2 separate regions of the Homo sapiens genome follow, and region 2 is linked to region 1. The links are contacts of gene promoters, found by promoter capture Hi-C in blood cells and fetal thymus (Javierre and others, 2016). All regions are on one chromosome and are shown on one strand. The core of a region is centred on a gene start or on the middle of the fragment in contact, and the rest is flanking DNA. Distances in the headings are between cores, read along the strand shown.

What was found. The method cuts DNA at HindIII sites, captures the fragments that hold promoters and counts their contacts. A CHiCAGO score of 5 or more calls a contact.
Region 2: a contact is called between a fragment that was not itself captured here and the fragment with the promoter of NKX2-8 in region 1, in 3 of 17 cell types (M1 macrophages, megakaryocytes and M0 macrophages). The highest score is 7.6, in M1 macrophages.

The regions. Positions count from the first base shown.
Region 1 is chr14:36,579,034-36,586,127 of GRCh38, reverse strand. NKX2-8 (NK2 homeobox 8) reads left to right here and starts at 3,514. Exons shown (of 2, transcript NM_014360.4): 1 at 3,514-3,895; 2 at 4,664-6,124. The coding sequence starts at 3,739. The coding sequence ends at 5,226. RefSeq lists enhancers at 4,123-4,933, 4,934-5,744. The HindIII fragment of the contact is 11,395 bases long and covers 1,374-7,094 here.
Region 2 is chr14:36,092,693-36,099,786 of GRCh38, reverse strand. The region is part of intron 1 of LINC00609 (long intergenic non-protein coding RNA 609); the gene reads right to left. Among named protein-coding and RNA genes, the nearest start is that of LINC00609, 26 kb to the right of the region's middle. The HindIII fragment of the contact is 227 bases long and covers 3,100-3,326 here.

The DNA.
Region 1 (7,094 bases), core at 2,265-4,764:
GACACAATCATTTTTTTCAAAATCAAGATGCTTTAGTTTTATTTCAGAATTTTCTAGTCTTAAAATCTTAAGCACGTGGTAGTGATAATCATCTCTGGATAATACTTCTGAAAGGATGATTATTGTGGACAGCTTAAATATACTCATATATTACAGGTGCCTAAACATTAAAAACTCTTACTGGAATTGAGATATACTACATCCAATTACAAGAAAACAACTACTTAGCTAATTAAATAATAATATTCACATGGTATGTTAAGTTGCAAAGAAGTTCAATTGTCCAGAACACCAAATAATATATGAAAATCTGGAAATAATGTCCAGTTAAATGCTTACTTGTGATTCTAAGAATCTCTTGGGAATTGGAGGCAATTCGTATATATCTCCAATGTGTAAAAAACTTAAGATTAGCTTGACTGTCTTTTCCTATTGACCCAATATCAAAATAATTTTCCCCTCCCATGTCTGTGAATTTATCTGATGTGAAAAGGCAATATAGAAAGTACCTTTCTCTAATTCTGGCTTTCCTGCATTTCTTCAGAAGGCACAGTTTATATTGAACAATTTCTTGGAGTCCCCCGGTTCTAGCTCTCAGAGATAATTCAGCTAAATCCGCGGAGCAGAGCTGAGAGGAAGGTTGGCCTATGGCAGAGGCACTTATGGCAGAGGAGGAGGGAATCCAAGATGAAGCAGGTAAGCTGCAGCCCTTTCTAGAACCAGGAGCTACAGGGTTTCCATGGGACATCTAAAATGCAGACCAAGGCCCAGGAACACTGTTTCCGAAGCCCGTGAACATGAAGCTAGAAGTAATATTTGGAGCGAATCCCAGAGCAAAGTCCTTCCCAGAGCACAAGTGCTAGATGGGGCCTGTATCTCTGCTTTGGAAGCCAAACACTAAGAGTAAAAGCAAATATTTGATGCTGAAGAGCTCTTAAGAGCTGAAGAGCGCCATTTACTTATTTCTACACGTCAGTGTGGGCTTAGGATGTTAAATAGATTAAAAGGCTAAGAGAGGTCAGTCACTCAAGGAAAGACTCTTCTTTTGCTTCTCCTGACTTGGTTCTCTTCCCTAAATTGTTATCCACCCCACCCTACTCCTGTGGAGGATCCTTGGGAAACTCAAAAGATGACACCTCCTCTCCTAGAACATCCTGGAGACGGAGTCAGTCCTGGGGCTAAGAATTCGAGAACCTGAGGGAGGAGGGAGTCTAAATATCCGGCTGGTAAATGCTACAATGAAGATAGGTTTAGAAAAATTCCTGAGATACAGAATCATAAAACTGGTAGGGTCCTTAGAAATTACCAAATCTATTCTCCTACTATCTTCTGTATCAGATTAATTTTAAAAAAAAAAAGGAAGGAAGGAAGCTTAGAGAAATGAGGTGGTTAGAGATAGGTAGGGGCAGAGCGAGGATGCGAACCGATTTCCAGGCCAGAGCTCCTTCTACCTTACACAATCTCATAGTTCAAGACCGAATTTGGGAATCAGTCTTAACACTTGCTTCCCCAGGACGGTCTTTGTCAGTGCCTCAGCTTCTCACTAGGGAGGTGGGCTGGCAGAGATTGCCAGGCCTCGGGCTCTGGCCAGAGATAAGTCCACGAGGCCTGGAGCCAGTCTGCGACCTGCCCACTCTCTAGACGCTGGGGGCTCGGGAGCTGAGGAGCGGTGCGCGGCGGGTTTCCAGACTCCGCTGTCCCCTGCCCACTCCAGGCTCCCGCCCCGGCCCCGTCTGCAGAGAGGACAGCCAAGTCATTTCAGTTTAATCTTATTTAAAAAGACATAACTAATAAATCTATTGCCAGGGCCGCGGAAAGACGGCCAGCAGAGTCGATCGTGCTCCCAATCCCATTGAACCCCATTGAAAACCATGACAACACCGGACAAGCTCCGATTTATCCCGGCGCGTTAAAGCGCATTGTGAGCAGACGTCAATCATGCATTATTCCGGACTGAACAAATGCAAAATCTTGACTGGAACAAATGCTTCCAACAGGTCCGGGGCGTCGAGCTCCATTTCCCCTTTGTCCGCGGCCTAGCAGTTGGCCTGTATTGGGGTTGCCTCCGCCCGACCACCCAGCGCGCGGTGCAGCTCCGGGCACCTCGGGCACGCTTGATAGGGAGGCTGCTGGGGAGGGTGCGCGGGGCTTGACAGGGCCGCCGCCGCCGCATCCGAGCCAGGTTCGAGTTCAGCCCGGGAGGAGCCAGGACTTCTGGTGCAGCCACCCAAGTACAGAGCCCTTCGCTACAATTTAGCAACTAAATATCCAAACTACTAGCTTCAGTAGGAGAGGCCTCTGAGAGGGCGTTCCTCTGTAGATTGAAGCGCGGCCAGAGCTAGGCCATGGCCCAACAAAATGTATCCACGGCGGCCTGTTCCCTGCGCCTCCTACATTGATCATTTTCTAGGGTGGAACTGTGGAAACTAGAAGATCCCAGAGAAACCCATGGCCGGTGGTATTTTCTGCCGGGTAGGCCCTGTCCTAATTCTCCCGATCGGTCCATTCCCGGACCAAGGCGGGCAGCCTCGTCAGGGTCTGCCATGCTGCGAGCGGGGAGCGTAGGCCATGGGCAGGCTCCTGGGCAAAGACCAAAGCCCAGGCAGTGAGAGTGCCGTTGAGGCTATGGGGCCAAGGCGCACAGGCGGCACCAGTTCATCTGGCGACTCCAAGGAGGCCTCAAAGCCCTCACAGGATGCCCTGAGAAGCGCCCCCGCCCAGGGGCTCTAAAGCGGGCCTGGACCCAAATTTGTGGAGCTCGGCCTCCGAGCTCCGAGATCGGCAGCGGCCGGGCGAAGCTGGGCCAAAGAGACAGGCACTGTAGACCTAAGTAGCTTGGCTACAAGCCTCTTCTGTTTTGCCGGCCTGTGGAGACGTGGAGCTGGGGCTCCGAATGTTGTCCCAGCCCTTCCTCAGCACCTCTGAGGCTGTTAGGGGGATGTATGGTGTGATCCGAGGCTCCCAGCGGCCGTTGAAACCCCTGGGCCAATGCTGGCAGGGCCAGGCTAATCTTTACGCCCTCCTGAAACTTGTCATCCTGAATCTTAGAGGGGCCCAACCAAAAAGAGAAAGGGAGCGCGCCAGAGTTTAACGCCGCTTTGTAAATCACTTTCTGGATAATTGCGGGAAACTACCACTCCAGCAAACAAGCTCGAAGAATAAAGCAAACAGGGAATAAATTCCTGGGTGCTAATAAACCCACCCCTGCCACCCCCACCCTTCCCGGCGCTCCCGCGGGGCCTGGCCTCAAGTCAGCCCAGGAGGAGGAGGAGGAAGCTGGGGCTGGGTCAGGCGGGTGGTGGCCACCGCTCGCCACCCAAGATGTTATTCACTGGTAACAATCCCCATTATCTGTCCCCACTTTGGGCTAATCAGACAGAATCGCTAATGCCAAATGCTGCTTCCTGCAGCCTCTGGGAGGTAACTGGGCGCCAAGGGGCGGGGTGCGGGGCGGGGTGCGGGGCGGGGCGGGGGCGGAGGTGGCACCTTCCGGGCTCGCCCCGGCTCTGGTCCAGTGCTCATTCAGGTACTTAACACCCTGGAGACCCGGACCTCGGCTTTCAAAGCGGCCTGGGTGGGAAGAGCTGTTTATATAAACAGAGATTCCGCTGTAAATGCGCTAATATCCCGGCTGCCAGCGCATGGCGAGCGCCTCCCACGCCCATCCGTAGGAGCGGCGTCCCGGCCGCCCCTCCGTTCCCAGCCTGCCCTGCCCCCGCCTCCTTCCCCTCCTCGGCCATGGCCACCTCTGGACGCCTGAGCTTCACCGTGCGCAGCCTTCTAGATTTACCCGAGCAGGACGCGCAACACCTGCCGAGGCGGGAGCCAGAACCACGCGCCCCCCAGCCCGACCCCTGCGCCGCCTGGCTGGATTCGGAGCGCGGCCACTACCCTTGTAAGTGCGTGGTGGATTGCGGTGCGGGGTGGGAGGTAGGAGGCGTGGGGCAGCAGAATCAAGGGCCCAGCCCACGAGGGGCCGGAAAGCCGAAATCCCAGCCCAGAGTCTAGATTTCCTCAGTCTTGGAAACGGGAGCCCTGTCCTCGAACCCCTAACGCATTCATCCCGGTCGGCACATCCTAAGAGCAGATCCCTGCCTGGCACTGGTGCTCCGAGATTTGGGGTTTCTGTGTCTGACGATTTCTAGAGGTCGGAATAATTGAAATTTAAAACGCGCCGCCACCTGCCGCCCCCACCCCACCCCCCGCCCCCTCTCCATGCCTGAAAACACGGCCACGATCTCCAGGCCTCCGTCTGGGATGGCCAGTGTTGGCGAGTTTACCCCCACCCCGTTCCCACTCAGGGCTCCGCAAACCTCGGCACACTGCAGTGCAGTCGACCTGGAGGAGGCCGGCGCTGGTGACCCAGCTTGTGATAAACTGGTCGGCCAGCGCAACTACCGGTGCGGACATGTTAAGAGGGCCCCGGGGTGGGTTTTTTCGGGGCACGATCTCAGGCCCGCTGATGACCGCTGTGGTATGAATGAGGTCACCGCATTCGGAGAGGTGGATGTCCAGATGTGGACTCAGGAAATGGCCTCATCCCGAAAGTCTCGGGCTAGTGGGCGTGCCCTCTGGCCAGTGCCTCCACGCCCGCGCCAGAAGGGCAGCAGGCCCTCGTAGGGTCCGGCGTCTCACCCACCCGTGTCTCCTTTGCTGTCCCTAGCCTCGGACGAGAGCAGCCTGGAGACCAGCCCGCCAGACTCGTCGCAGCGGCCGTCCGCTAGGCCCGCGTCTCCGGGCTCGGACGCCGAGAAAAGGAAGAAGCGGCGGGTGCTATTCTCCAAGGCGCAGACGCTGGAGTTGGAGCGGCGCTTCCGGCAGCAGCGGTACCTGTCTGCGCCCGAGCGCGAGCAGCTGGCGAGCCTGCTTCGCCTCACGCCCACGCAGGTCAAGATCTGGTTCCAGAATCATCGCTACAAGCTGAAGCGCGCTCGCGCTCCAGGGGCGGCGGAGTCGCCTGACCTGGCAGCATCCGCCGAGCTGCACGCCGCGCCCGGCCTGCTGCGTCGCGTGGTGGTGCCGGTGCTTGTTCGCGACGGGCAGCCGTGCGGCGGCGGCGGCGGTGGCGAGGTGGGAACCGCCGCGGCCCAGGAGAAGTGCGGCGCCCCTCCAGCCGCCGCCTGCCCTCTGCCGGGCTACCCTGCCTTCGGTCCCGGCTCGGCGCTTGGCCTCTTCCCCGCCTACCAGCACTTAGCATCCCCCGCCCTGGTCTCCTGGAACTGGTGAGGCCGCAGGGCGGCACCTGGGGCTACCCTCGACTTTGGAGCGCGCTCTGCGATTGGAGCAGGGCCGGAGCCGAACGCCTGGAACGCTCTCCGTCCGCCTCCCTGCAGCCCCATCTCCTTGGGCGCCAGGGTCCCTGGCGCGCCCTCATCAGCCGTCGCGCAAGCACACACGAGGGACGTGTGCCAGAGCCCCCTCCCTCACCTTCCCTCCACCGCCAGCCCCAGAGTTAGATTTTATGCTTGGGCCTTATTTGTATATTTTTAAATAGCGATTTGTATAGGAAGCAAGTTATTTTTTTAAAAAATAGAGTATTTTTCCTCGTAGTTCGAGAATAAAATGTGTGGGGTTGGGTCCCCTGCGCGCCTGCGGGGAACGTAGGCGGGAGTCGTGCCCCCCAGACCGGTGTTCGCATCGCTGGCTCGCCCCTTGACTGGCTAAGTGGGGCCCGGCCCCAGCTGGATCGAAGGGCGGGTTGCAGTCCCGACACGGCTTTAGGAAGATACCTGGGGGATGGAGGGGTGGTGATGTCAGGGTTGGGCGCGGGAAGAAAAGGAGAGGAGGAAGCTGAGGCAACTTTGGGATTCTTGTCAGCGGGAGGCGTCACTGGCCCCAGAGTGACTCCGACTCTCCGCTGGGCTCCCAGAGCTGCTGGCGTTTCGAATACCGAAAAGTCAACCCTGTGGACCACGACAGGGCAGAAGGAGTTTCTCCGGAGATGAGCCGGCGAGGCCAGGTGCGGGGCGCGCTGCACCGGAGCAGCCCAGGCCGGGCCGCAAGCTGTTTCCAGAGTGCAGGAGCCAAGTGCTCGGGGACCCTTTGAAAAGTGCCTGGGGACCTGAAGAGCACCGGGGAATTTGTAACCCCTATTTAAGCCTGCAAGTGCCTAAGTTAGCTGTGATTTCCTGTCTCCTCATGGCGCAGTACCTGGCCAGGGTGGGGAGGAGGACGTGAAGACATCAAAGGGTCGGGGGAACGACCGGCACAGGGCTTTTCCTCTGGGCAGATCCGGGAGGACGCGACTCCCAGCTGAGGGAGGGCCGCCTGGGGGAGCCTTGGGAATCCGAGATTGGGGCAGGTCCACCCCGGCCAGTGCACACTAGCACCCCTTGGATTTGTAACTGCCCCGCTAGGGCCTCTTGTGCAAGCAGTCACTTTCTCACAGAAGCGACGACCTCGCTCCCAGGCACCCGCTGCTGGGAGATGCGCCAGAGGAGAGCAGTTGGGGCATCAGGTGCGGGGAAGGGAGCCAAGGGCCCTTATGGAGGTCTCTAAGGAGGAGTCATGGGCCTGTTAGGGGCTCTAGCTTTCTTGTCCAAGGAGGAAGAAGGGGAGGATGAAGGGTGGCTGAGGCAGTGTTATCACCTGGGATTTTGGGGGGTGGAGAGAGAAAGAGAGAAGGGGAGAGGGGGAAGGGAGTGGGGTGTTTGGGTCTCAGCTGCCGGCCACCTTGCCTTCCATATGGATGCGGTTATCTTAGAAGAATCTCGATCCTTAAACCTCTTTTTGTCTTGGGAACTGAAAAGGGCATTGTCAGGCCTGAAAAGGACCTAGACAAAATCCGCACTGTTTGGATTCAGGACTCTGTTTAATCAGTCCCTGGTGACAATGTAGTGGGTGTTAGGCAGGACAATAGTATCTTTTTAAACCTTGTGGCCTTCAGGAAGACAAAGGGCTTGAATTTTATGGGCTTACAACTTCAATTAGAACAGTGCCAGTGTGCATGGGAGATTATCAAATTTGTATCATAAAACCCCTTTCTAATAAATGATTGCTGGGGAGGGAGCTTGAACATTGTAAGACAGATATTGGGACCTGCCAGGGGGCTTCCCAGTTAGCTCTGGCACAGCAGATGTGAAAGAAAAGGAGGT
Region 2 (7,094 bases), core at 1,964-4,463, 490 kb after region 1:
ACCATTACATGTTGGCTTTTTTTTTTTTTTTTTTTTTTTGAGAGGGAGTCTTGCTCTGTTGCCCAGGCTGGAGTGCAGTGGTGCGATCTTGGGTCACTGCAACCTCCACCTTCCAGGTTCAAGCAATTCTCCTGCTTGGCCTCCTGAGTAGCTGGGACTACAGGTGCATGCTACCACACCCAGCTAATTTTTGTATTTTTAGTAGAAACGGGGTTTCACCATGTTAACTAGGCTGGTCTCGAACTCCTGACTTCAGGTGATCCACCCACGTCAGCCTCCCAAAGTGCTGGGATTACAGGCATGAGCCACCGCGCCTGGCCATGTTAGCTATTTTTATAAGAGGGCTATGCCTTTTCACACTCTCCTTGCTTATGAGCTAGTTTTGTATACCTTTTTCCAAGGACACCAATGATGTTTTCCTTCCATCCTTCTGTATTGAATATTCAGGGATCCACCTTCATGTTCTTTGATTCACAAAAGACCAGGAACCTTCCGTATTTGGGGAGGGAGGAAGTAAGAGAGAGAGGAGTCCAACTTATTTATGTTGGACAGTAACCAGCCAAAGTTTTTATACAGAGAGAGAGATGAGGTCTCACTATGTTGCCCAGGCTGATCCCGAACTCCTGAGCTCAAGTGATCCTCCTGCCTCAGCCTCCCAAAGTGCTGAGATTATAGATGTGAGCCACCACGCCTGGCCCCAGACAGAGTTTTGAAATACAGATGAGTGTCACAGCCAGTCATCTGGGGGGACCTACTGACTACTGTGAAAAGAAAGTGCTCACAATATGCCAGTAGGACGGACAATAAACACAGCTCTTGTTGAACGGTAAGGCGACGTTCTCTTAGAAGTAGACTGACTCTGAACATGGTATGCTCACCCCCAATCCCCGTCTCTCAAGCATCACAACCCTTCTATCTCATTTTATCCTCTCTGTTGCTTCTCCTCCCTCCCCCAGACTAAAAATCTCTTACAAGTATCAAGAGGCATATTAATTAGAATTATTAATGATTATTAATGCTAGCCACTGTAACCACAAAAATCTCAGTGGCTTCACATATCAAGGTTTTTTGGTTTTTTTTTTTTTGCTCTTTCACAGTACAGTCCCATATGGGTTATGTGGCTCTCTTGGGTGACTATCCTCCAAGCTCAGGGACCTAAACAGCTTTCATCTTGTGACTACACCATCTGGAGCATGTGGCTTCCAATGCTACCAGAAAATGGGAAGAGAAGGCTAGCAGTTGATGCAGGATGGTGTTTGTTTGTTTGTTTGTTTTTGAGATGGAGTCTTGCTCTGTCTTCCAGGCTGGAGTGCAGTGGTGCGATCCCTGCTCACTACAACCTCCGCCTCCCGGGTTCAAGCAATTCTCCTGCCTCAGCCTCCCGAGTAGCTGTGATTACAGGCACGTGCCAGCACGCCTGCTAATTTTTGCATTTTTAGTACAGAAGGGATTTCACCATGTTGGCCAGGCTGGTCTTGAACTCCTGACCTCAGGTGATCCACCCACCTCGGCCTCCTAAAGTGCTGGGATTACAGACATGAGCCACTATACTCAGCCAATGCAAGATGTGTTTAAGGATCAAGTCTGGAAATTATATCATCATTTTAACCTACATTTCATTTTCCAAATCATATCATTCCAGCCCTACCCACCTACAAGGAAGGTTAAAAAATGTAATCTTATGGGCCAGGTGTGGTGGCTCACACCTGTAATCCCAGCACTTTGGGAGGCCGAGGTGGGTGGATCATCTGAGGTGAGGAGTTCGAGACCAGCCTGGCCAACGTGATGAAACCCCATCTCTACTAAAAATATAAAAATTAGGGGTGTGCTGGCACATGCCTGTAATCCCAGCTACTGGAGAGGCTAAGGCAGGAGAATCGCTTGAACCCAGGAGGCAGAGGTTGCAGTGAGCTGAGATCGATCCACTGCGCTCCAGTCTGGGTGACAGAGCAAGACTCTGTCTCAAAAAAATAAAAAATTAAAAAAAATTTATCTTTCTGCATGGTGAGTAAAACACAGTGTAATGAACATTGAACATAGTCTCTGCCTGGTGGGGAGGAAGGCTGGCTCCTACCAAGGATGTTTTGTATATGCCATTTGTCTCTTTATTTCCAGCAAAGCACACTGGGAAAGTCACTAAACAGCCACACCTGTAGCTCACTCTTACCATTCCTTACCCATGACAGATGTTTCACCTCCATTTTAAAAGTGGGAAAATTAAGATTCAGAGAGCAACACAGAGTCAAAGGCAGGCCTACACATGTCTGAGGAACCGCAAGTCCTAAGAAGAAAAAGAACCCTAGCCTTCTCCATGAATGGCCATTGTCATTTTCAGAGATCTTTCTGTGTGACAGACTTGATGTCAACTTGATACTTGAATTCCATTTATCCAGTATTTATGGTTTGCCAGCTCTGTCTAAAACCTGTTGGCAACTACAGTTATACAACTGTACATAGGTGAAACATACATAGACTGATATAGTTTAGATAGTTGTCCCTGCCCTAATCTCATGTTAGATTGTAATCTCCGATTCTAGAGGTGGGGCCTGGTGGGAGCTGTTCAGATCACAGGGATGGATCCCTCATGGCTTGGTGCCATCTTCATGATAGTGAGTTCTCGCGAGATCTGATCATTTAAAAGCGTGTGGCTCCTCCCCACACCCCATCGCCTTTTGCTCTCTTTCTCTCTGTCACTTGCTCCTATTTTCACCATGTGAAGTGCTTGCTCCCACTTTGCCTTCCACCATGAGTAAAAGCTCCCTGAGGCCTCCCGAGAAGCCAAGCAGTGTTGGCGCCATGCTTGTACAGCCTGCAAAACTGTAAGCTAATTAAACCTCTTTTCTTTATAAATTACCCAGTGTCAGGTAGTTCTTCACAACAATGCAAGAACAACCTAACACATAGACCCTGCCTTCAAGGAATTAATAGTCTAATGGGAGAGACAACATTTAAAGAGCTAATGTTTAAAAAAGATTATTTTATCATTATTTAGCTGAAATATTTATTTCTATATTATAATAAGCCAAAAATATACAGAGAAACGCTTATCTCTAAGGCCTTCGATTTATTGAATATTCTTCAGGGCTCTTGGTAAAAGCTTCATGATAAGGAAATATCTTAAAATAGGAGTACACTTTTTTTAAAAAAAAAAAACCACCCATCTCTAATTGATATCTAGAATGCAAAGTTGAATTCTACATGACTAGGAGAACAAAGGAGAAGCTCCAGAGTCCCATTAGACATCTATAGAAGGGACGTGAGGGCCCAGGGCCAGCTGAGAACTCATCTGTGAATCTCGGCTTCTCTTCCTTTAAGAAAAGAAAGCTTATCATTGCTAAGTCAGTACCAAAAATGTAAGTTTTATTAAATTCTTCTAAGCTTTGAGTTCCACCAACCAGTGAAAGCATACAGCTGAAACCAAAGAAACTAAAATGCAAATGTCTGTAGGTGCTAGTTCCACAAAGTGTGTCTCTATCCCAGAACCATCAGCAGCATGTGGGAGCTTGTCACAACTGTATCATCTTGGACCCTGCCCAGGACTTACTGAATCAGAATTGCATTTTAACAAAAATCCCTTTGGTGATTCATAGGTACATTAAACTTTGAGAACCACTGGCATAAAAAAACTATGTCTCTATGGGAATTTTGGATAATTCTTCTAAGAACCTACAGAGATTTATAATCCCCAAACAGGTAGACTGTATTTTGCTTCAATATAGCATTTTGCTTTTGGTGTTTCTCTTCTATTATGAAATAGAATGAGAATTTCCTATACCAATAGACAATATGATTCAATTAAAGTTGGCTAAATTTTAGCATTTCTAAAAGCAAATGGCAAAATAAAAGAAAATATTTTAATTCATGCAAATAGAATCAAATAAAAGCAAGAATATAAACACTAATGAAAATAGAGGATAGTGCTTCCAGGCAGACATAGAAATTTGTGATCTCAAACACTGTATATATTTAAATAAATGTTATTTTTTTCCCTTTGATGGTCCTATTTTATTATTAAGGGCACAGACTTTTTAACAAATGCACAACTAATTAACCTTAAGTGTTCAAAATTCCATAGGGATTTGTGGGCGATGGCTGAAAGAGCCTTAAGTTGATAAAATGTTAATGTCTTAAAGCATCTTTCTCTATTGAAGCCATGTACTCAGACAGGATGATGAAAAGGAAAATAAAAGGGAAATGTTTTCAAAGAGAGATTCTTTTTCCTGGGAGAAGAGGGTGAGGGGAGAAGGGAATGGCCAGAAGTGTTGGAGGCCACCGGCCAACAATTTCCGATCCTTTTCATCACACCTCAGAAAGCAGCAGAGATTATGAAGTCGGTAGAGTAGATATTTCTATGGAGGCTTTTTACAACTTACTTCCACCGTCACATTGCCAGCTGAGTTCCTCTTGCTAACATGACACATTTTTTTTTTAATTAGAGCAATTTGTTTCATAGGATGAGCGGTACCTTTCTCAAGATCCCATTCCTGCTGTTTCTGAGCCTCTTTGCCTTGAGGGCCCTTCTGTACCAGTGAGCCTCCAGTAAGTCTTGCTTCGCAAAGAAGCAGAGTGCTGCATTTCAATACTACAGACTACTTCAAAATCATGTTTTCATTTCCCAGAAAGAGTTTTTTAAAATGCACTACACTTCAGTGGCTGTATCCTGCCAGAGCCCAGCACCAAGGAGCCAAGGAGCACCTAAACAAGCTCTAGAAGGAATTCACTTTCCTCCTTTTGTTGAAAAATAAAGGCAAGTCAAGCCGTGGGCCAGAGTGCGCTCTTGGAGAACACACAGAGTGATCCACATCAGGGAGGTTGTGTCTGGTTCTTTCAGAGGTCCCTGCCTTGCCCCAGCAGCAACTGCAGAAATGGCTAACCCCACCCCACTTTCCACAGCCAATAGGAGCAGAGCCAGGGGACAGCCGCTCTGAGAGCCCCCTATGCACAACTTCTGAAAGAAACCCCCAAATTTCACCCTATCTCCCCTATCTCTCCCACCCCTTTCACCTCTGCCCCAAGGGGATGCCTTAAAATCTTACTTAGGAATAGGCTCTATGGAAATTAAGCCTTACACCTTTAAATAACAAGAGAATGGTGAAATAAAATACTTTCATTCTAAAGAGTCTATAGTGCCTTCAGGTCTATTTTCTTCAATTGCCAGTAGAGATGTTACCATTTAACATTTAGTGGCAGGCAGCCCCGAAAGAAGAAAGCAAGGAGTAAGACAGATCTACATTTTAAATGAAAGAAGGGGCTACTTCAGATTCTCCTGGCTATTATGCCTGTTCGGTAACAGTTTATTTTAGATTCGTGCTTCTTTATTCACAGAGACAGAAATTTACAAAGCATACAGTATTAAAAATTAATCAATTTTTACAAAAGGATTTTCACAGATTTCTTTAAATAGAAAGTTTCTTTAGTAAATATAAACCTTTACAAAATTGTTGAGTATCAAGTAGCAGAGTATAATCTCCCAGCACTGGCAACGTCTAAATAAAATCAAATCTAATACAAAATTATAAAGATGTATGTTTTACTTCCAGGTATCCGATCAGCAAAAAGCTATTAAGCACCTACTATATGCCAGGGTTACTTAGATGCCAGAGAAACCAAATCTAGTAAGATACCCTCCTGCCTTCAAAGCATTCACAAGGTTATGTGGATTCCCAGCATCTCAAAGGCTGGTACTTCTGAGTGTTGCCAGGTCACCTGTATTGTGTCTACAGCTAGTTTTGAGGGAGAACCACAGCAGCCCAACACACCTGCTCTCTCCCTGGGATCCTTTTCTTCAGGCCTCTCCATCAACACTATAAGTAACGAGTTGAGACACTAGGATAAAGCCCACATGTCCTTTAGGAAAGGAAGTTAACCATTGCACTGCCAGTTCTCTTCACCTCTGGTGCCAGTTGTCTGCCATCTGTTTACCTCATTAGGAAGTTAAAAAGGAGAAAGGGGAAAATAAAAACATCCATATTTATTAATTAGCTTCTACTATAACAAACCTGAGGGTGGGTGTTAGAACTAAGTACTTAACAGTAATTTAGAACGTTAGATTATCAGCATGGTGCTTCTTTCTGTCATTTATTCGTGATAGTGCACCCTGTAGTTGAGAAACTGCTTCGAAGACCACGGGGTACTGAAAGAACTGTTCTTAAAATGAGGAATTGAACTATATTCAAAATGTGGTACTAGACACCCAAATTCACTAAATTTACCAATTCACTAAAAAAAAAACAACTAACAATTTTAAGCCTTAAAATTAATATTGTCACATTTGTTGAACATTTATTGTGTGTCAAACTAAGCACTTTACCTACCTTTTAATGGTCACAAGAACTTTCACATATCTTAGTCAGTCTTTATAAGAACCCTATGAGGTAGGTACTATTATGACCTCCATTTTACAAATGAGAAAATCAAGGCACAGAAAGGTTAACTAACTCGACCCAAGGTACACAGGTAGAGATTAGTGGAAGATGTTTGGGCCCAACCACAAAGGTATACTGCCACATCATAAAAGAATATTTCTATGGAACCCCAGTGAGTCTGAGATTTGAAATCATCCACAGAAAAATACTGTGAATGCTGCCCTTCACAGAATATCTGAGCAAAGAAAAGCAGAAAATCATCCCTGACATTTGTTGAGCATTTACCATATTCTACGGTAAGCACTTCACATGCTTCATCTCACTTCTCAAAACCCTATTAGAGGCCAGGCACGGTGGCTCAGGCCTGTAATCCCAGCACATTGGGAGGCTGAGGCAGGCGAATCACCTGAGGTCAAGAGTTCAAGACCAGCATGGCCAACGTGGTGAAACCCCATCTCCACTAAAAATACAAAAAGTTAGCTGAGCATGGTGGCAGGAGCCTGTAATCCCAGCTACTCAGGAGGCTGAGGCAGGAGAATCACTTGAACCCAGGAGGTAGAGGTTACAGCAAGCCAAGATCGTGCCACTGCACTCCAGCCTGGGCGACAGAGCAAGACTATGTCTCAAAAAAAAAAAAAAAAAAAGAAGAAGAAAGAAAGAAAACGCTATAATGTACTATTATTACTCCAGTACCCATTTTACCAGTAAAGAAACTCAGGTATGGAGAAA